Linked DNA regions of Homo sapiens: regions 1, 2 and 4 are each linked to region 3. Evidence: promoter capture Hi-C in 16 types of primary human blood cells and fetal thymus (Javierre and others, 2016). All regions are on one chromosome and are shown on one strand. Each heading gives the region's core, a stretch centred on a gene start or on the middle of the fragment in contact. The rest is flanking DNA. Distances are from core to core; before and after follow the strand shown. Region 1 holds the start of LOC124902393. Region 2 overlaps PIP4K2A (phosphatidylinositol-5-phosphate 4-kinase type 2 alpha). Region 3 holds the start of ARMC3 (armadillo repeat containing 3). Region 4 overlaps PIP4K2A (phosphatidylinositol-5-phosphate 4-kinase type 2 alpha).

Evidence for each region. The method cuts DNA at HindIII sites, captures the fragments that hold promoters and counts their contacts. A CHiCAGO score of 5 or more calls a contact.
Region 1: a fragment that was not itself captured here is called in contact with the fragment with the promoter of ARMC3 in region 3 in 1 of 17 cell types (total CD8 T cells); the score reaches 5.0 in total CD8 T cells.
Region 2: a fragment that was not itself captured here is called in contact with the fragment with the promoter of ARMC3 in region 3 in 5 of 17 cell types (megakaryocytes, naive CD4 T cells, naive CD8 T cells and 2 more); the score reaches 7.2 in megakaryocytes.
Region 4: a contact is called between a fragment that was not itself captured here and the fragment with the promoter of ARMC3 in region 3, in 14 of 17 cell types (non-activated CD4 T cells, fetal thymus, activated CD4 T cells and 11 more). The highest score is 7.9, in non-activated CD4 T cells.

Annotation. Positions count from the first base shown.
Region 1 is chr10:22,553,623-22,556,494 of GRCh38, reverse strand. The region is part of intron 6 of PIP4K2A (phosphatidylinositol-5-phosphate 4-kinase type 2 alpha); the gene reads left to right. LOC124902393 reads left to right here and starts at 1,200. Exons shown (of 1, transcript XM_047426113.1): 1 at 1,200-1,998. The coding sequence starts at 1,295. The coding sequence ends at 1,912. The HindIII fragment of the contact is 1,539 bases long and covers 486-2,024 here.
Region 2 is chr10:22,611,915-22,614,614 of GRCh38, reverse strand. All of the region lies in intron 1 of PIP4K2A (phosphatidylinositol-5-phosphate 4-kinase type 2 alpha), which reads left to right. Among named protein-coding and RNA genes, the nearest start is that of PIP4K2A, 100 kb to the left of the region's middle. The HindIII fragment of the contact is 2,660 bases long and covers 9-2,668 here.
Region 3 is chr10:22,926,549-22,929,407 of GRCh38, reverse strand. It overlaps ARMC3 (armadillo repeat containing 3), which reads right to left and starts at 1,355. Exons shown (of 19, transcript NM_173081.5): 1 at 1,302-1,355. The HindIII fragment of the contact is 5,434 bases long and covers 1-2,859 here.
Region 4 is chr10:22,572,276-22,574,975 of GRCh38, reverse strand. PIP4K2A (phosphatidylinositol-5-phosphate 4-kinase type 2 alpha) reads left to right here. Exons shown (of 10, transcript NM_005028.5): 5 at 1,519-1,665. Among named protein-coding and RNA genes, the nearest start is that of LINC03027, 140 kb to the right of the region's middle. The HindIII fragment of the contact is 674 bases long and covers 1,033-1,706 here.

The DNA of each region.
Region 1 (2,872 bases), core at 6-2,505, 370 kb after region 3:
AGATCATAAATTTCAAATTCTTTATTACTTCAGGAATTTAACCAGTCCAATTTTTATGATAAGATAGGGACATTTTACTCTCATTTGGGTTTCAGTTTAAACAAAAGGTCTTTTCAGTGAGGTTTCCTACTAGGAATAGCTTTTGCAGGTGATCACAGAGGTTTTTCTAGCTGGTAGCATTCACAATTGAGGTTTGCAAAGCAGTGTAGGGAACTAGAGCCGCCACGACAGGGAGGTTGGCGCCTCGGGCCATGTCACCTTCGATGCATCCTGTCTCATGTGCCCTCTGTGTTCCCCGTGGGTCCTGTGTAGTGAAATGAAATACTAACTTTGCCCTCATGTATGGTAGGTTTGTGTGCAGTGTGCAGTGACAAAAGTGTCTTCCAAATTTGAAGACAGTATGTAGAGAATTCATGTGACATGTTTGTAACTAGCAGATAAAACCTAAAAACAAAGGAAATTTTAAACATCGTTTAAATAAAGCTTGTCGCTCACGGGCTGCATGGGGCCCAGGACGGCTTTGAATGTGGCCCAGTACAAATCCGTAAACTTTCTTAAAACATGATGAGATTTTCTTGTGATTTTTTTTTTTTTTTTAAGCTCATCAGCTCTCATTAGTGTTCACTGATTCTATGTGTGGCCCAAGACAATTCTTCTTCCAGTGTGGCCCAGGGAAGCTAAAAGATTGGACCCCCAGGTTTAGATTACCGACATCATAAATTGTTTTTTTTTTTTAATTATCCAGGTATCAACTAGAAGGTATCCTAAGTTTAAAGACCCTATTTTAGAAGAAATAGACATAGCAAGTTACTATTGCCAGGCACTATGTGCTTTGTGTCATTTGATTTACACACTAACCCTATTACATAGGTACAGTATTATTAATTACCCATTATATAAGTAAGGAAACTGAGGTTTGGGCAGACTAAGCAACTGGCCCAGAACATCACAGCTAGTGTTAAAATGTTAAATATGTCAGTATATTTTTTAAAAGAAAAATCTTGCTCTGGATTGATCAGCGATGCGCTTTTCCTAGATCCATAAGCCATACTTGAGAACATGATTAGCATATAACGACGTTTGTATATAACACACTGTGTGGCAGGCACCATTTTAGGCCTTTTTACATGTGTGAACTCATGCAACCCTCACAACCCTATGTTTGCAAATCCCCCTTTAAAGATGGGAAACCAAGTCACAGAGAGGTAACTTAACTTGCCAGAGTCACATAGCTAATAATTGGAGTTGCGGAGCTACAACCCAGGCAGCCTGGATCTAGTGTGTTCACATAACCATGGGCTTCAGTTTGTCTCCTACGTGGAAAGCTGAGCCATGCCTAGTCGACCTGGGGTCGGGCATCACTCCGTATGACAGTGAAGGGCTCATTTTATCCGAACGGGAAGCAGGACAGCCAGGCTGCGGGGGGAACGGCGTCCCTCTGCTGATGCCTGTGGCTGTGTTTGTGCATTTACACGTCACATTAGCGGAGATGAATGCCACTTGGAATCCAACCCACCGCAGCAGATTACCTCATGCAAGAGAGAAAACAGCCCTGCCTGTGCTAGCCTGGCTCTGCGTTGGGCTGTATTTACTCACGGGGCCTCAGCTGGCCAGGGCCTTGGAGCAGCTCTGGGGCCCCCGACCCGGGCAGGAATCCCAGCTCAGGACTAGACGCACAGAGGAGGACGGGGTGGGGAAGAGCAGTTCCCTCCCATACCCTCGTCCCCTCCCAGCAAGTACAGAGGGTCGTACAGCAATCGTCCCGCCTTACTTAGAGGCTCTGATCTGCACAAAACTGGCCAGAGCTGAATTCAGCGCAAATAAAGACTCGGCCCGCCGCCACTTCAGAAAGGTTGCTGACCGCTGGCTGGAAGCCGGCCTCGGAGAGTCCACAGCTGAGAAGCATTTCTGAGCTGTCTTTAGTTAGCCCTGGGGGTTTCTTCCACCCTCTGGCTGTTTCTGCACTGAACTAGAAAAGATATCAAAGACACTCATTAAAGAACCAGACCCAGTGACTACAAGCTTGGAAAACTCTAAGCGCAAATAATCCAGTGTTTAAAAGCAAAGTGTAGAATCTGTTGCTACATTAAGCTGTCGCTGCCCACAGTTAATTTTCTGCTGCTCTGCAGACGTCATCTTTGTAGGCAGTTTTACACCAAGAGTTTATTAAGTTCATTAAATCATAGTATAGTTTTCCACATTTAAAAAAAAGATGTTTCTAATATAAGCACTGCTCATTATCAGAGAGATATATTGAAATTTCTTTTAAAAAGCTAAGTAGTAAGATTTTCTTGAGAGTGAATCATTGTCAGGTGACTTAACCTTTGTCATCTCGTTTTTTTCTTTTTGTTTTTGAGGTAGGGTCTTACTATGTCACCCAGGCTGGAGTGCAGTGGCGCGATCATGGCTCTCTGCAACTTTGACCTCCCGGGCTCAAGCGATCCTCCTACCTCAGCCTCCCAAATAGCTGGGATGAGAGGCACACACCACCACGGTTATCTCATATGTTTTATTACTTTTTTGTAGAGATGGAGTCTCACTATGTTAGCCAGACTGGTCTCGAACTTCTGGGCTCCAGTGAACCTCCTGTCTCAGAGTCCCAAAGTGCTGAGATTGCAGGTGTGAGCCGCCACGCCCAGCCTATCTTGTTCTTAATTTAAAAAGAACAGTTAAGTTTTTGTAAAAAAAAAAAAAAAAAAAAAAAAGTTTTTCAACCTGTAATACCCATTTCAAGTCTGTGCGCTTTATTAAATGCTCACAGTGATGATGATGACGATGGGGGTGGTGATGGGGATTATAAGCACCACTATTTGAATCTGTCACATGGTTTCTGATTGAGTTCCCAGCACAACTCTACCTTAGCAGAATGATT
Region 2 (2,700 bases), core at 89-2,588, 310 kb after region 3:
TAAAAGCTTCTCTTTTAAGTAGTAGATCCTCTGTTTTGTGAAGTGTTTGTTTACAAGTCATTAAATCTAGCTACCACCTGACGAAGAAGTTTTCTGGGGGGAATCCGGAGGGGAAATAAAGCCAAAAGCAATGTGATGCAAATGTAAAGAATGAAAGGCCACCTGGAAGAAAGATAAAGTAGCCATAAAGTAGCTGTCAGATCTAACTCAGTATCCTGCCGCACTACTCAATTATGAAGGTATAGATACTGCTGTACCAGGACATATTACAATCTGCAAAATGAGAGGTTAGACTATATGATCTCCGAAATTCTCTTTTAATTTCAGCATCTTATGATTCCATGTAAACCATTTGATTTTTCTTCTTGTCTCATTTCTTGTCTTCTTAGATAAAGAGGACCAAACATTCTCTACCTCTTGGGGTAGTCTGGTTTTGGAAGATGGGGAATAGCTAAAAGTTTGTGTTTCCCTGACATTTAAATGACACAGTAGTCAGAACTCTCCGTCCCTCAAGGGCCATGTAGGGCTGCACTCCTTCCAAGAAGCCCGTCACCCACACCCGTGACCACGGGCTCCTGCTCTGTGCTTCTGTGGCACTTGTTGTCTGGCTTCAGCATTTCTTCTGTGCTGCTTGGTATTTTACTACATGTGAAGGTCTTGCACCATCGACTACAGTGGAAAACTCCTTACAGTCAGGGATCTTGTTTTGTACTGACTTTCCATTTCCAAGTGATGGTCCTGGAACTCCTTTCCCCTTTATGTCACACTCAGCCAGCAAACACCCTCCATCCTGAAGAACGCCTGTCATCCTGTCTCTGCACCTGCACCCTGGGGTTGAGCTCTGCCAGAATGAGGAATGTCATCCACAAGTTCACTTGGTTCCTGTACGTGAACCATCACAAACTGTGGATGACGCTCAGCTCTGCCCGGAAGCCCAGCCTCCTGTCTCTATTTAAACTTGTCCATCCACATTCTGCAGTCCCCTTTTTAAGCTCTCTGTGTTCTCTTTAACCTTTGAAGTCCTCAGCCTGCTTCTCACTCTTAGCAGGTGGCCATGGCCCTAATCCCCAGAGAAAATAGGAGCCAGTGGTCGGGAGCCCCATCTTCCCTCCATCAGTTCTGCTCCCTCCCCATGACACCTATCTCTTTTCCCTCCTGTGAACAGGAAAGTCGCTTCCCTCCTCAGAGCCTCTCCTTCCTGCATGCCTGAATCCCATCCCCTCCCACTTTCTCGAGAAGTGCTACGGAATGTCCCTTCTCTGTCAGGTCCTCCCTCTGTCCCTCATCCCTCTTCATCTCGCTCCTGTCCTTCCCTGCCAGGCTCCTTAGAAATCAGCCCTGTGCAGTGCCAGCATTTCCTTAACTCAACTTAGTCTGGGTTCCATTGCTACACTCCACCGAAACAACTCTGCCAAGGTTGCCAAGGACCTCCTGTGCCGTTCAATCTGGCTGACATTTCCCAGTCCCTGCCTTCTCAAAAGCATCATGATCATCCCATAGCATGTTTGAACCCCCTTTTCCCTTCACTCCCATTGGGTGGCCCTGTGCTTTTTCACTTCCTGCCTCGATGGCAGTTTTCCCCTTTCTCATCCTCTTCTCCAGGCTTGGAAACATTCCCGTTCTTGAAGACTGCTTCTCCGCCTTCCTCCCCATCACACCGGCCCCTCTCCAGGTTACCTCATCCACTCCTCTGGGGAGCTAATGTCTGATGCACAGATACACACATTTTTATCTCTTGCCCCTGCTGCCCCTGGGAACTTCAGACCCACCTGTCCACGGCCTACCTGACATTGACACTTAGATGTCCCAAGAGCGCATGAAGTTTAACAAGCTCAAAACTGAACTCTTCTCTTAAGATGCATTGTGCCAGTCGTTGGACCCACCAGCTTCCCCCGCATGCATGCAGCATTCCCTCCATCTTTCCCTACATTTCTAGTCTGTCATCATCAAGCCCCATAGATTTCAGCACTTCAGCATGCCGGAGTCTCTCTGCTTCTTTCGTTTCTGCTGCCGCCTCCGCCCTCTGCTGAGCTGCTCTCCTCTGTCTGGTGCAATTCTACAGCAGCCGCTTCCCGGTGCTCCTGGGCCTGTTGTTCATCCCTTTCATGCCACGCACCTTGTCTATTTCTGCACTGTTTTCCCATTAACAGTGTCCCCTCCTCTCTAGGACTCGCCTTCTTCCTGGAAGCCCTGTCCACCTGCCCTCTCCTTTCTCCACGAGCCATTGCTGCCCAGGGAAGCCTCACATGCCTCCCCCATCTGGCCTGGGCCTTTTCCATACTTGCTCGTAGCCCATTGTGCTTCTCCCTCCTGACTCTGTCATTGTTAGAGTTCAACACTTGGGGCAGTTCTTCAGTTAATGTGTCTGCCCCTCTGGACCATAAGCCCCAAGAGGACAAAGACTGGTGTCCGAGCTGTGCCCAGCACAGAGTGGACTCTTAAAGGTTGTGCTGACGCGAGGATGGGTGGGGAAGGAAAATCAATAAGGAAAATTCTCAGTTTACTCATTCCATGTTGGCTGAAGTTTTCATATTTTCTCCACAAAACATGTTCCAGAGCAGGTACCATAAAGCAAAAGGATGCAGAAAGTTTCTGGTTTCCTGTTTCCTGTCTGAGAAGACTCTCTTAAGTGATACTGATTTAAGCAGCCTGAGGAGGCATCAAAGCTTTGGAGGATCTGCTGAACACATCACGCGCATT
Region 3 (2,859 bases), core at 106-2,605:
ACAACGAATAAAATAAAAATCACCCAAAGATAAGCTCAGAGAGATCAATACTATTTCTTTTCTTTTCCTTTCCTTTCCTTTCCTTTCCTTTCTTTTTCTTTTTCTTTCTCTTTCTCTCTCTCTTTCTCTCTCTCTCTCTCCCTCTCTCTCTCTCTTCTCTTTTTTTCTTTTTCTTTTTCTTTTTTGAGACAGAGTCTCACTCTGTTGCCCAGGCTGGAGAGTGGCCTGATCTTGGCTCATTGCAACCTCCACCTCCCAGGTTTAAGAGATTCTCCTGCCTCAGCCTCCTGAGTAGCTGGGATTACAGGTACCCGCCACCACGCTCGGCTAATTTTTGTATTTTCAGTAGAGACAGGTTTCCCCACATTGACCAGGTTGGTCTCGAACTCCTGACTTCAGGCGATCCACCCGCCTCAGCCTCCCAAAGTGCTGGGGTTGTAGGCGTGAGCCACCGTACCTGGCTTTGTGTGTTTTTCTAAAGTGATTTTAACATCCTGCCTCAACTTCTATCCCCTACTTTCACCTTCCCTTCCTGGGTTCATATTCCTACTAAATTCTTATATTAACAAATAAATTCATGAAGTCTCAGTTTCCCTTCATTGCTTTAATAATCTCCAGTGGATTAGCATAACATGCCATTACAAATATTTTAAAATCCCTTAGCTATCTAGCCAGTCTCTGATTGTTGAAATTTGTTTCTAATTTTCTGGAAATATGGACAGGGCTGAAAGAACGTCCTTGGACATAAAATTTTCATCCATTATCCCCAACTATTTCTTTAGGATAAATCTCTAGCAGTAAATTAACTGGGTGAAAACTTCAGGGCATTGGATATGCAAACAACTCTGCTCTAAAAATGCATCTTCTTGACTACTGGAGCCATTTTTTTTTTCACGAGTTGATTGGTCCTTTGTATTTGTTCTTCGTGAACGTTCAGCCTATGATTTTAAATATTTTCTAATGAGTTCTGCTTTGAGAAGATTTAAAGAGGAGGAGGGCTCAAGAAATCGAGGCCACTTCTGAGTTGCTCACAGTCAAGTAACGGAATCTGACTTGATCTCACCTCAGATCCCCTCTCGGGCCTCAGTTTTGTCACCTGTTGAATGGGAGGTGGCGGGATGCTTACGAAACCCACCCCAAGCCCCGTCTAACCCTGCGGGCGCGAGGCAGAAACTAACAACGCCCAGCAAGGTGTTGCCTCACTGACCCAAGCAGTCTGCGCCCACGTGGCACCTTCTCCTTTCCCAGGTTTTCCTCAGGCCTCTGCCTTGGGCCTCCCCACCCCACGGGGTTACCTTTACCTGCCGGGAGATCCCGCCGAGTAGCTAGCTGCTCCGCAAACCCAGCAGACGAACCCCCAGTCCCTTGTTGTGCCTCGTTGCTAGGCGACGCCACGCCGCGCCGCGCCTGCGCCCTGGGAACGCTCGGGGCTGCTAGGGCGCCCATTGTCCCGCCGAGGGCAGCGGCCAGTGCGGGAGGAGCCAAGTGCGTCCGCGATTACCTGAATCCAGTGCTTTAGGGGAGAATGGAAACTGGGGGTGGAAGCTGTAAATCAAGAGGCAGTTCAGCCTCAGTTTCTGGCCCAAGGACTGGCTGTGGGTTCAAATACGCAAATACTATTGCATTCTTCCAAATAGAGGCGTCAGCCGGAATCTCTATGCAGATGAAACCCACATCAGCCACCTCCTGCCCAGGCTCCGTTAAGCTGCAGACCTGCACTGCCACATCTCTTTGCACTAGGATGTCCAATCCGTTTCCACAGAACTTCTCATGGCCCTTCAAAGCCCCGTTCTCTTCCTCTTTCTTTCCTCTTCCTGCCATTCTTCCAATTGCCTAGACTCAGAAGGAGCTTCAATTTCCCTTCTTCCTCCCATGCCCCCCAACCACAGTCATCACTTCAGCCACTTCTTGGCGGCTTACATTTTGTTTCCTGCTTGTTCCCTTTCTCATATCCTTATTGTCACTTCAATCCAGCTCGTCATTTTTTGGCCTTCTGGCTGAGAAATTCAGTTGCTCTCTGCTTACAGTTCTTTCTACGTATCACAGGCAAATCGGCCATCCAGAAATCATCGTTCCAGTCTTGTCACTTCCCTACTCAAATGTCAGCGGCTTCCTAAGATAAATTTTCAACACATTGGCCTGGAATTTAAGACCGTCTGCTCCATCTCTACTCCATCTGTGCAACCACATTTTCAACCGATCTCCACCATCCAAGCTCCAGCCAAACTTACTGTTCCCGAAATTTTCCACACTTTTCTCTAGATTTTCTTGCTTATCTGTTCATCACTTCATTTTTCAACAAATATTTATAAAGTAGCTTCTATTTCCCAGGTCATGTGCAATACCTGAAATATTCTCTCATTTCCACTTAATTAAGCCCAGCTCAAATGCCATCTTCATAAAATATTTTTTGATTGCCTTTAGCAAAAAGTCTCTCCCTCTCCTCTTAGACTTTGCAAATTCCGTCTCCTACCGGCCCCTGTTGGTCTCCCAGTCCTAAGAATGATAGATGCTTCTTATAATTGCTACTTTTATATATCTTATGTTCTCTTCTCACCATTTAAATTGCCTGATAAACAGCTTTATAACAATTATTTGTATTCAGTTTTCCATGGTCAAATATCCGGTGTGACTTCTGTATAGAAAAGATCTTAAGTAATGGTCATGAAAGTAGGAAAAGGATTAAGACCAAGTAGCATCAAGGAAACTAAGGAGGGAGTTTCAAGAATATAAGCGTCATCAAGTGTTATATGATTGGACCTTGAATAATATACACCTGTATTTTCAGCCTCTCCCTGTCTTCCACGTTTTTTCCTGTTGGTATATAATTATGTTGAAGCCCCTCCCATGCCTCATCTA
Region 4 (2,700 bases), core at 120-2,619, 350 kb after region 3:
TTCTCTCTACTGCACGTGGAGACTAGACTTCCTCAGTCTCCATGTTTGAAGGCCCATCCAACCACCTTTCTACAGAGGCCAAGAACCCCTTTTCATTTCTCTAGATCAGATGTGAGAAATTTTCTTTTCACCCAGTGGCTATTTACTGCCTGTTTTGCATTAGCAAAACTCAATTTATTATATTTTGAAAGGAAATAGAAAATGTTTCACTCATCTAATTTCAAATAACAAGGTGAAACTCTACTCAGGAATTACATGAGATTAAAATTTATAGCTCAGTTATTGTCAATAAGAAAAAAGAAAGGGAAGAGGCATCTTTAAAACTTGCCAAAACTCTAGATGGCAAAAATCAGAATCAAGTACCAATGCTGTTTATCTTTAATGATCAAAACCAAAGACTTTTTCATTCTTAAGGTGGTTAAATATTATCAGAATTGATTATTAACAGTATTTACAACTAAGAAGTTTGAAAGGACATTTTAATTACTTTTGTATTTTTTATAAAATGCTCATTGTAAAAAAAAAAAAAAACAGAAAATGAAAAATTCAAGCAGTATAGTAGAAAAGGATCAGAATTCCCTCCAATTGCATCATTAGCATCTCTGAATATGCCCAACATGTATGGTGTTTACAGTAATGGAATCTCACCATTTATGCTGTTTATTATCCTGGAGATTGCACACGTGTCAGTGGACATAGAGCTTTTTTGAAATATTACTTCCCCATGATTTTAAAGGAAGGAAAACCTAAGCTTCCTTTGGGAAGTGCAGAGGGACCCGTTTTATGAAAATCTGCTCTCAGGGAGAAGTGGCTCCATCTTGTGGCCCTCTGGAGTTTGGTCATGAAAAACAGCCAAGGTCGTGTTGTGTTTTTTTTGCAACTCTCCTCGGAAATGGTGTCAACCCTGGGCTTGTCCAGTTAACTTGGTGGAAACCAGCAGGGACAAGGCAGTCCCCATCTGCCGGCAGAGCAGGAGCGAGGGTGCTATGGTCACAGGGGTTGCCCCCTTCTCCCCTGCTCTCTTGAGAAGCTTAGCTCTGCCCTCCCAGCTTCTAACACTGGGCTCCCCACAATTTCCTCTTTCATCTCGACTTCAACACTGTTAGAGAAGCTATTTTAGCAGCCAGGTTGCTCTGCCTCAGCCTTGTAGTCAGGGCTTTGGGGGTAGAAGACAGAGGCGCTAGGTGGAGTGTAATATCCCTTAAAAGGAATTTGAGAAAGATAGTCACATGTCCTCTTGCCTTACACGATCATATCCAAGGTTTGACCATACAAATTCCATTTGGAATGTTGGAAAAAAATCTGTTTGGAGATAAAATTGAATTTTCTTTTCTGTGTAGAGATGGTGAACACAGATGTGATTGGTAAGCAGTACAAATGTGGTCATTTTCTGTAAATAAGACCCTAATGGCTGGAGGTTTTCACTTTGTATGAACACCATAGGCGTATGTATTTTACATCTAAGGAAGCAATCTTTTGATTGGATGTTTTTTTCCTTTTTCTTTCTCTCCTATGCAGTACATAGTGGAATGTCATGGGATCACCCTTCTTCCCCAGTTCTTGGGCATGTACCGGCTTAATGTTGATGGAGTTGAAATATATGTGATAGTTACAAGAAATGTATTCAGCCACCGTTTGTCTGTGTATAGGAAATACGACTTAAAGGTGAGACTGATTTTATGAATTTTTGTAAAGTAACTCAAGCTTACTCTTCTACATTGTAAATGTTGTCATTGATCATCAGAAATGCTTAGGAGCCGCTCAGCACTTAAAGCTACCAGACAAGTAGCAGTGTATTCCTTCCTGTGAGGCAATAAGTGCTTGCTGGCCTCACCAAAAAACACTGGCACATGTTAGAGATATCACATCTACTTAAATATTCAGCCAACTGCATACCAGGCACTGTTCTAGATGCTGGAAGTGATGGGATGAACAAACCAAACCTGCACTCGGGGAGCTGACATTCTGGTGGGTAAAGACAGGCAGTAAGTAAAAGTGATAAGTTAGTCATAGAGCATACCCAGAAGTGGTAAGTGCTATAGACAGAATTAAAGAGGGGGAGGGTTTTAAATAGTCCTGTCAGGGAAGGTTCCCCTGAGAAAGATGACATTGGAGCAGACTTGAAGGAGATGAGGAAATGAGCTGAGGAAGAATATTGCTGGCAGAGGGAACTGTAAGTACAGAGACCATTTCAAAGGCTTGGAGATAAAGGGGGGCCCCTGGAAATTCTGAGAGTGGAGTGACATAATCTGGCTTCTGGTATCACCAATTCAGGGGAGAATGTTCAAGTTAGGGGTTGGAAAACTATGACTTTCCTGAATTCCAAATCCTACTTGAGGGACTTTTTTTTCTTTTCTTTTCTTTTTTTTTTGAGAAAGAGTCTTCCTCTGTTGCTCAGTCTGGAGCGCAGTGGCTCAATCTTGGCTCATGGCAACCTCTGCCCCACTGGCTCAAGCAGTCCTCCCACGTAGCTGGGACCACAGGCACGCACCACCATGCTCAGCTAATTTTTTGTATTTTTTGGTGGAGACAGGATTTCACCATGTTGCCCAGGCTGATCTTGAACTCCTGAGCTCAAGCAATCCACCCACCTTGGCCTTCCAAAGTGCTGGGATTATAGGCATGAACCACCGCGGCTGGCTGGGCCAATTTTATAAATACATTTTTATTGGAATACCACGATGCCCCTTGTTTCTGTAT